3 separate regions of the Homo sapiens genome follow, and all the other regions are linked to region 1. Evidence: promoter capture Hi-C in 16 types of primary human blood cells and fetal thymus (Javierre and others, 2016). All regions are on one chromosome and are shown on one strand. Each heading gives the region's core, a stretch centred on a gene start or on the middle of the fragment in contact. The rest is flanking DNA. Distances are from core to core; before and after follow the strand shown. Region 1 holds the start of MGAT3 (beta-1,4-mannosyl-glycoprotein 4-beta-N-acetylglucosaminyltransferase). Region 2 overlaps FAM83F (family with sequence similarity 83 member F). Region 3 overlaps FAM83F (family with sequence similarity 83 member F).

Region 1 (2,865 bases), core at 170-2,669:
GAATGTGCTTAGAGTGATAGGAACTAGGAATGGATCTTACACTTTCAAATGGTTGGGAAAACATCAAAAAATGTTTCTGGACACGTGAAAATGACACGAAATTCAAATTTTTGTGTCCATAAAGTTTTATTGGAACACCGCCAGGCTCATTCTTTTACGTATTGTCTATGGTTGATTTTATGCTACGATGGCAGAGTTGAGTAGTTGGGACAGAGACCATATGGCTGGCAAAGCCTAAAAGATTTACAATCAATCTCTTAAAGCAAATGGTTTGCCCACCCTTGCTTAGAGAGAGCCTCCAGGAAGAAAAGAGCAGTGAGGGTGACGTTGAAGAAGGGGGCAAGACTAGGTCACCAGGGGCTCCCTGTGCCCCGCCCAGGCACTGAACTTAAGCTGAGGGCAAGTGGGAGCCATTGAAGGTGCAGGCAGGAGAGTGACCTGCTCAAGTGAATGTTGGAGTAGGATCACTCTGCCTCCTCAGCAAGGATGGATGAAGCTGGGCACGGAGGCACCTGGAGCAGGTAGACCAGCCCTAGGCAGCCCGGATGGTTCAGCAAAGGCCTCTGGGACTATTCTGGAGCACATTCGCTGGGATATAGAATAGGTAGCGCATCCCTGCACCTTCGACGATGGCGGCGCAGAGATGTCTGCTGCGTACCCACAATGCCTTGTGCCTCGCACCGCGGGAGGAAGTGGCTGCTCTGTAGGCCCCAGAACGGAACCACTTGAAAGGCGGGAAACACGTGGGGGACGCCTCTGAGCCCTGAGAGGAATGGCCTAGAGCAAGGCCACGAGGAGCCAGGGCACGACACGGTGGGCCCTCGGAGAACCGCTGGTGGGCAAGTGGCAGGAGAGTAGGCTCAAGAGGGTTGGCAGGGCCGACCGGGCCTAGGGTGGCCGGGTGAGGGGGGCGGGGGAGGGGAGGCCCCCCCAGTTACCCCAGGAGTGCGCAGGTGGCTTCGGGCATGTGAGGGACGGAGGGGGTCGGACGGAAGGACACAGGCCGGTGTACAGCGGTCACCCACGCCCCAAGCAGACACACAGACTCTGCAGACACCGTAACAGGCCCGGCACCGTGCACACATCACAGGCCCAGGCCTCTGCACATGGTCACAGATGCCTATGCGAAATCCCGGCCCAGGTTCACGCGGGCACAGGCGCATCCACGCACACACCGCAACACGGATCTGCACGTCCATGCACACACAGGCACAGACTCGGGCACACGGAGTCACACCGACCCGGGCACGCTGCGGAACGCACCCGTCCACGCATACACAGAACGGGACTTGCTGCCCCGCACGCACACCAGGCCCGCACTCCGAACTACCCGCATTCCCCGCACACGCCCCCGCGCAGGCCGCCCCGGGCCGTGGGCCGGCGCACGCACGGTCACAGGAGGGGCGCGCGCACACTCGCACTCACACACACTCGCTCGCACACGCACACACTCGATCCAGCACGCGCGGGCGGCGCGGGGCGGCGGCGGCCGGAGTCTGCGGTGCGAGGCGCCCCCGGCCCGGCGCGGCGGCGGAGCCCGGCTGGCGGGGGAGGGGAGGGGGTTGCGGAGGGGGCGGGGTGGGGGCCGGAGCCGCTTGAGCCGGCGGGAGCGGGCACCCCTGCGCGCCGCGCTCGGCCTCGCCTCCGCGCCCCCCGCGCGCCCGCCGCGGTCCCTCCCCCGCGCCCGTCCGCTCGCCGGGCCCCCGCCGCCGCCCCGGGGTGCAGCCGAGCGGCCGCGCCGGGTCCCCGGGACGGGGTGGAAGTGGGGGTGGGGGGAGGGGATCGGGGCCGGGCCGGGGCCGCGCTGCCTGCGATGCCGGGCGCCCGCCGCAGCCGCTGCCGCCGGAGCCCGGGATGGGGCGAGAGGCTGCGGCGGACGCCAGCATCTCCCCGCCGGGGACCCCGGGGGCCGCGGAGCCGCCGCCGCCGCTGCTGCCGCCGTTGCTGAGACCCAGCGGGCGATGGGTGAGTTGACCCCGGCGTCCTGGGGGGCGCCGCGGCCCCTCTATCCCCGCGCTGCCCGCCCTCCCGCGCTGCGCTTGGCGCCCCCCGCCCGGCTCCGCGGCCCACTCCCCGAGCGTGACCTTAGGGGGCGGGCGCGGGCGCACTGGGGCTGGGGGCCCGGAGGCCGCGGTGGGGGCGGGATGCCGGGGAAGCCGCTCGGCGCGGGCCCCCTCCCCCTACCCGCCGCTCCTCCGAGCTCCCCGGTCCCCGGAGGGCAGAGCCTCAGCGCCCGACCCCCTCCCACGGCCGGGCGGGGGACGTCCCCGAGGCGCGGGGCTCGAGCCGTGCTTTGTGCGCGGCACCCCCCAGCCTCCGGCGCGGCTCCCCCACAACCTCCGGCGCGGCGCGGGGCTGGGGTGGGAGGCCTCCGCGCCCGCCTTCCCCACCCCCGACCCCAGACTGCGGCGGCGGCAGCCGAGGCCCAAGCGCAGTCGGGGGCTGGGCGGGTGCGGGGGCTGCGGCCGTAGCTACCCCTGGGGACCAGGCAGAGGCAAATGTGGAGAGGGCCCCCGGCCATTTACCGGGGTGGGGGCCCCCGGCTCCTTGCATTGCTCTGCCCAGGGCGGGGGAGGGAACCTGGCTGAGGGAGGGCGCTATAAATATCTGCAAATAGTGAGTTCTGGAACCGGGAGTGGGGAGGGGAGTGCGCCTGGGTGTGTGTATGGTGGGGTTCCTGAGCTGGGGTGCAGCAGGAAGGGATGCCGCGCGGCCAGACCTAGTGGTCTGAGGTCGGATGACCCCCAGCCCCGGAAGATGCCCCTGAAGGCCCCTGATGGGGTGTGGGCAGACACACTACCCCAGTGGGATTCCTCCCTGGTTCCCCACTTCATTCCTGGGACACACCAGTCCAGATTCGCCTTG
Region 2 (2,865 bases), core at 117-2,616, 580 kb after region 1:
CTGATCTTGAACTCCCGGCCTCAGGTGATCTGCCTGCCTTGGCCTCCCAAACTGCTGGGATTACAGGCATGAGCCACCACGCCCAGCCTGGCTAAGGTTCATTATCCCCATCTTTCAGATGAGGAGGCACACAACTCTCCCCAGATCCCACGTCACAGAGAATGCAGGTCTGAGTCTGTTCCTTGAGCTCAGGGTCTTGGCAATGGTGATGCTTTGGAGCTGCAGAATCCTCTGTTGGGGATGGGGCTGCCCTGTGCATTATAGTACGTTTAGCAACATCCCTAGCTTCCACCTACTAAATGCCACTAGCACTCCTTCAGATGAGACCACCAAAAATGTCTCCAGATGTTACCACATGTCCCCTGGGGGGTAAAAGTGCCCCCGTTGAGAGCACTGGCTCTTTTCTTCACAGTCCTGACCTGGTGGCCTGCACAGGCCACTTCTCCGAAGTGTTTCAATGCACTCTCTGCCCTGGGTACCTTGGACACAGCACCCTGGCCCAGAGAGGTTGGCTGACTTGCCTGAGACGCTGCTTCCTGGGAGACGCAGTAGCATCTTTCCTTTCTGTTCTGGTTATCTTTCTTAGTTCTTTACCACCTTATATTCCCCATGACAGGTGTGTTTATGTACACACATCTGCCTCACTCCACTCAGCTCCCTGTCAGGTTTCCTGCCAGTCTGTCCCTCTTCCTTCAGGCTCAGCTACGTCCTGCACAGACAGTACCACTGCACATACCTGTGTGTGCCCAGCGGTGGACCCACCTCCAAAAGCAGCCAGTGCTGACAGCAGAGAGCCTTCCACACTCAAGTCAGGCCAAGCAGGAATCGCTACCTGCCTGTCATGACCACATTCTCAGTGAACATTGACAAAGCCCCCTTAGCAGCTAATTAGCCCTGCCGTGCGCTAGGGATGCAATTTCTCATCTGGCAGTGCGCCACACTCCTGCCTCCCTGCCCAAAGGACGTAGTGGCTGCTGCTGATCGTCTGCACTGCTGTTCCAGGGGCAGGAGGTTTGCTGCAAATCAGGTACCCCCAGCTCAGTGAGCAGAACCAGTCCAAGGTTGAGTGAGGAGAAGGGCAAGAAGGGCAGGCACAGCCGTGAGTATGTTCTGGGGCTAAGTAACCATGAGATCAGCCCAGAGACCTTGCACAGTTAGGCAGGCCTGGACTTCTCGCCCTTCCCCTTGCAGCTTCTGCTCTCCCAGCTAGGGACTGAGGAAAGCCCTGCTTCTAGATGCCATGTGCTGCTGCCTGGCACGATAGGTACCCATCTGTCCTTGGGGTTCCTGAGCCTGGAGAGCGGGCTTTGTGAGCACTGGTGCCTCACCTGCCTGGCTCAGCTCTGCAGCCACAATATATGCTTAATACCTATTTGTTAAATGATTGAAGACTTGACTGCCATTCAGTACAGAGAATTAGCCAGGTGAATAAACAGGATGTGTCATAGAGGTTCTAGAATTGATCATGACCCTTTCTGTCTCATTCCTGACTTCTAATACCGTATATGCCAAATGGGGTTCTGCTGTGATTTAATTTCTTAAGGACTGGGTTTATCAAAAGTCCCTCCTGATCTAATCCTTTCCTCTAGGAAGGCTTCTCCTTTCTTCATCTGTCCTAAGTGCATGGTCTTCATCTCCTGGGTGGTCCAGACTAGGTGGCACTGGGCCTGCAGGCCTCTAGCTGCTCAAGGATGGCCCTGTCTGCATGCTTCCTTTCAAAAGCTAGCATAGAAAGGAGGGCCCAAGGTGAGGAAATTTGTCCAAAGTCACCCAATGAGTCGCAGGAAGGGCTAGAATCTGGTTATCTGGACCGTCCTAGAGCACTTTCACAGTGACAGCCGGCTGGAATCAAGTTTTCATTTAGAAAAATGGCTAGAAGTTAGGGCATTGCCTGCAGCCACTGAAAAGCAGCTTTAGGAGCAGATGTCCACGTAATAGAAGGAGATGGGCTAGGGCCTGCCACGGAAGCCAGCAAGCGCGTGGGAGCTGGGGGAGGAAAGGAGCAAAAGGCAAGAACAGGCAGTATGTCCGCGGTGCCCACAGTGCTGTGGGTACAAGCAAGGGGAAAAGAGCCCATGGTGTGCAGAAAACCATGCGTCATGATTCTTATTTCCTGCTCGCAGCTTTGACTCTCTGCCTCATCTCTTCCTGGAAGTGTCTTGGAAGTTAGGCGACTGCACAGGGAAAGGTTCGCTGCAGTGCTTGCAGGCCTGCACCCATTTATTCATCCGGTGGATATTTGCTGGGTGCCCGGCCTGGGGATCCATGGTGAGCGAGGAAGGCATGGTATTGAAGTGGTATGCCTGCATGACCTTGGCGGGGGCGCATGGCATAGAGAGGACAGGCTTCAGAACAGGCAGGCAAGGGCTGAAATCCTATCTCTGCCACCGAACAGCTAATGACCCCAGCAAGCAATTTCACATCCCCGAACTTTCCTGTTTCCTCATGTGTCAAATGGGGATGATCTCGAGACGACTCTCCAGAGTAACCACGTGAAGCACCTAGCACAGGGGCTGACGCAAACAGCTGGGCATCGGAGGAGCCTCCAGGGTTGTGACCTCCAGTGGCTTATTTTCCTTTTGGGATCTTCTCTCCTAGATCCTCCCCTTTAATTCCCTGTGAAATTTACCACTTTCATATTGAATCGTTGGCACACAGGGCTAACTGCTTGTTCACCTGAAGGAAGCTACAGAGTTCAGGTTTCTTTTTTCTTTCTTTCTTTCTTTTTTGCTTTTTTAAGATGATCTTGCTCCGTCACCCAGGCTGGAGTGCAGTGGCGTAATCATGGCTTCCTGCAGCCTCAAACTCCTGGGCTCAATGAGTTCCTTGAGATCTTCCATCCTCAGCTTCCCAAGTAGCTAGTAG
Region 3 (2,865 bases), core at 243-2,742, 550 kb after region 1:
AGGCATCACCTCCCCACTCTAAAATGAGGTAACTGAGACCCAGTAGATGACTCACTCCAAGCCAAACAACCAGTGTGACTTTCTGCTTCCAGACCATATATTATCCTGCACGCAGCAGCCTTCACTCAAAGTGGGACGTCCCCCTCGTGCATTCAAGTGACCTGAGTGGGGGTGGAAGACGGAGGCTGCTGTTAAAATGCATTTTCTTGGGCCTTTGCTGAATTCGAGTCTTTGAGGATGGGGCCCTAGAATCTGCATCTTCAATACGCATACCCACATCCCTGCTCCCAGGTGATTCTTTACACACTGAAGTTTGACAACCTGCCCCATAGACCTTGATCCTCTCTTTGGGGAGATCAGAAAAGGAGATTCCACAGCTGGAGATGTGTGAGTCAGAGGCTGCAGGCAGACCCAGCTCTACCCTCTGTGGGAAAGGGAAGAATTGCCCTCTGGTCCCAGATAGACTAACTCCCCTGGGCTGCCACACAGACGGCCATTCTGGGAGACAGCAGTTTGACCTGTTTGCTCAGCTGCTGTCCTTTCCACCCTGAGAGACTTAGGGCTTCAGATGTGGGGAGTTCCCCCCATTTGCCTTATAACGATCCCTCATAACTGCACAGCGTTTTTGTGGGATTTCGTGGGCATGATCTCATCCGAGCCTTCCAACAGCCCTTGGGAGGCAGGCAGGGCAGGTGTGGGAGGCGACTCGGCCCCAGGCGCACATGGGTAGGTAATCAGTGGGAAAGTGTCCCTAGCTGCTTCCCTTCCTTCCCCAGGATAAGTGACTGTCACCAAAAGGCCCCCCCGAGATCAGCAAGCTTGGCCTGTGGCCTTTTGCTTTTTCACACCCACAGAAGGGGTGAAGCTGGGGCTCTTTGCAGGCAACAGCAGCCGCACCCGCCCGAGTCCTGAGCTCCACGTCAGCAGGGCAAGGGGACGGATGGTGTTGTCTTTCTCTGGCCATGCATCTCAGTTTGCATCCTGCTGTGCAGGATGAATTGGAGGGCAGAGGTGAGTAGGAGAGAGCAGTTAGGAAGCTCATCAAAGCATGGTAGGAAAGGAGGAGAGTCCGAGCTGGGGCGGTACCAGTGGGGACAGAAAGGATTAACCCTGAGAAGGTGCCCGGGGTGGGGCCTGCTGGATTCAGTGACTGATGGGATTTGGTCGGTGGGGAGGAGGAGGAGGCCTGGGCTTCTGGCCAGAGTGACTAGGAGGATGTTGATCTGGGGAGTGCCTGTGTGGCTGAGGGACACGTCCAAGCTGCAGTCGGCTCTGTGGTTGTGGACACCTGGCAGAGCCATGCCTTCTCTAGTCTGGGTCATCCAAACACACGTGGGGTGCAGGGGCCAGGTGGAGCCCTCTTGTCGTTTTTGTTATCTAACGGTAATTACGGAGTCCAGAAAGAGAATTGGAAATGCCGGCAGTTTAATTAAAGCTGAATGGCAGGAGAGGGGCATTTGGAGGCTCCCTCCCTGCCTTCACTCCCCGTCCTGCCGCCCAGGCAGGATGTCAGATGAGGAGACGTTGAGCTCATCAAACACCCAATGAGAAGTCTTACAACATCAGAAGCTGTCTGCCAATGCGCCTGCGACAGCTTATAGAAACTGCTGCCGCCTCGAATCAACCTCTCTCCCCAGGCATTGCACGTCAGTAGGTAACCAGGTAAAGGACGCCGGGGGTGGGCAGCCAGCTGGAGGGGGCGTGATTTCCTCCCCCAACAAAATCGGCTTCCCTGGGTTCTGAGCCCATGATATCATGTTTTTAAACCCGATTTTCCATCTACACTGGGAGCTTTGAAGTTCGCTCGGTGTGGGGAATCACGTGCTCAGTGAAAGACCCAAGCGGAGAGACTGGGGAGCTGGTTCCCCTGGGCCTGACACTGCGGAGCTGAATGTCAAAGCAGGGCCCTCAGAGACCAAAGCGGAGGGTAATTATCACTTCTCCACAACTAGATTGCAGGAGTCAGCCAGCAATTGATTTTTTTTTCTACTTCAGATATTTCATTGTTTAATTGGTAGTGACACAGATGGCTGGCTCGCATCAGGGCGTCACAGTCCGACTCGCGAAAGCCAGGCTGTGGGGACTGCTGCCTCTCCTGACATCCTTAGGCAGGTGGGGCTAGGACAGGCCAGCTTCCCTGCTTAATTTTTCAACCACAAAGCAAAAGTAAGCTTGTGAACCTGAGACATGCTTCTGCAAACCGGTCAAGCTGTCCTCAGCGACATGAGTCCACTCTAAACTGGACACCTTGGAGTGTTCAGAAATGAGAGGACAGTGAACTCTTGCCTAGACAGCTCGTGGGAGATAAACTATCAGCACTAGGAGATGGCGATCAAGTATCAGAGCCCTGGAAACTGCATTGCTGGTGGAATGAAGCCAGAACTCTGTACATTGTGTTCAAACCCTCCGTATCCAGCCCGTGTACCTTCACCCTTATACCTACCCCATACCTGCCCTGAACTGTGCCAGCCCAGCTGGAGGACTCGAAGGTGGTTTTGGTTTGGTTGGTTGGCTATTTTGGACCCCAGGTGCAAAGAGCTGATTGTGCACTTTAGTTCACGGCACAATGCCACCAGAGAGCCTTGAAAGGCCTCATACTTTACCTTTCTCCTTCCCTCCCACTCCTTTCTCCTTCCACAGGCAGCCACCCTTATGTGTTCAGCATATGTCCTCAGACATCTTTGTATCCTTGAAAAGTATGCAGTGTTATGTTATGCAGTGTGCTTTTTTGTTTTGTTTTGTTTTTTGAGATGGAGTCTTGCTCTGTTGCCCAGGCTGGAGTGCAGTGGCATGATCTCAGCTCACTGCAACCTCCACCTCCCGGGTTCAAGCCATTCTCCTGCCTCAGCCTCCCTGGGATTACAG

What was found. The method cuts DNA at HindIII sites, captures the fragments that hold promoters and counts their contacts. A CHiCAGO score of 5 or more calls a contact.
Region 2: a fragment that was not itself captured here is called in contact with the fragment with the promoter of MGAT3 in region 1 in 1 of 17 cell types (M0 macrophages); the score reaches 5.4 in M0 macrophages.
Region 3: a fragment that was not itself captured here is called in contact with the fragment with the promoter of MGAT3 in region 1 in 1 of 17 cell types (activated CD4 T cells); the score reaches 5.1 in activated CD4 T cells.

The regions. Positions count from the first base shown.
Region 1 is chr22:39,455,593-39,458,457 of GRCh38, forward strand. It overlaps MGAT3 (beta-1,4-mannosyl-glycoprotein 4-beta-N-acetylglucosaminyltransferase), which reads left to right and starts at 1,420. Exons shown (of 2, transcript NM_002409.5): 1 at 1,420-1,965. RefSeq lists silencers at 1,346-1,405, 2,136-2,405, 2,416-2,545. The HindIII fragment of the contact is 6,875 bases long and covers 1-2,865 here.
Region 2 is chr22:40,033,297-40,036,161 of GRCh38, forward strand. It overlaps FAM83F (family with sequence similarity 83 member F), which reads left to right. Exons shown (of 5, transcript NM_138435.4): 5 at 1-2,865. Among named protein-coding and RNA genes, the nearest start is that of TNRC6B-DT, 9.8 kb to the right of the region's middle. The HindIII fragment of the contact is 9,682 bases long and covers 1-2,865 here.
Region 3 is chr22:40,008,463-40,011,327 of GRCh38, forward strand. All of the region lies in intron 1 of FAM83F (family with sequence similarity 83 member F), which reads left to right. Among named protein-coding and RNA genes, the nearest start is that of FAM83F, 15 kb to the left of the region's middle. The HindIII fragment of the contact is 1,353 bases long and covers 817-2,169 here.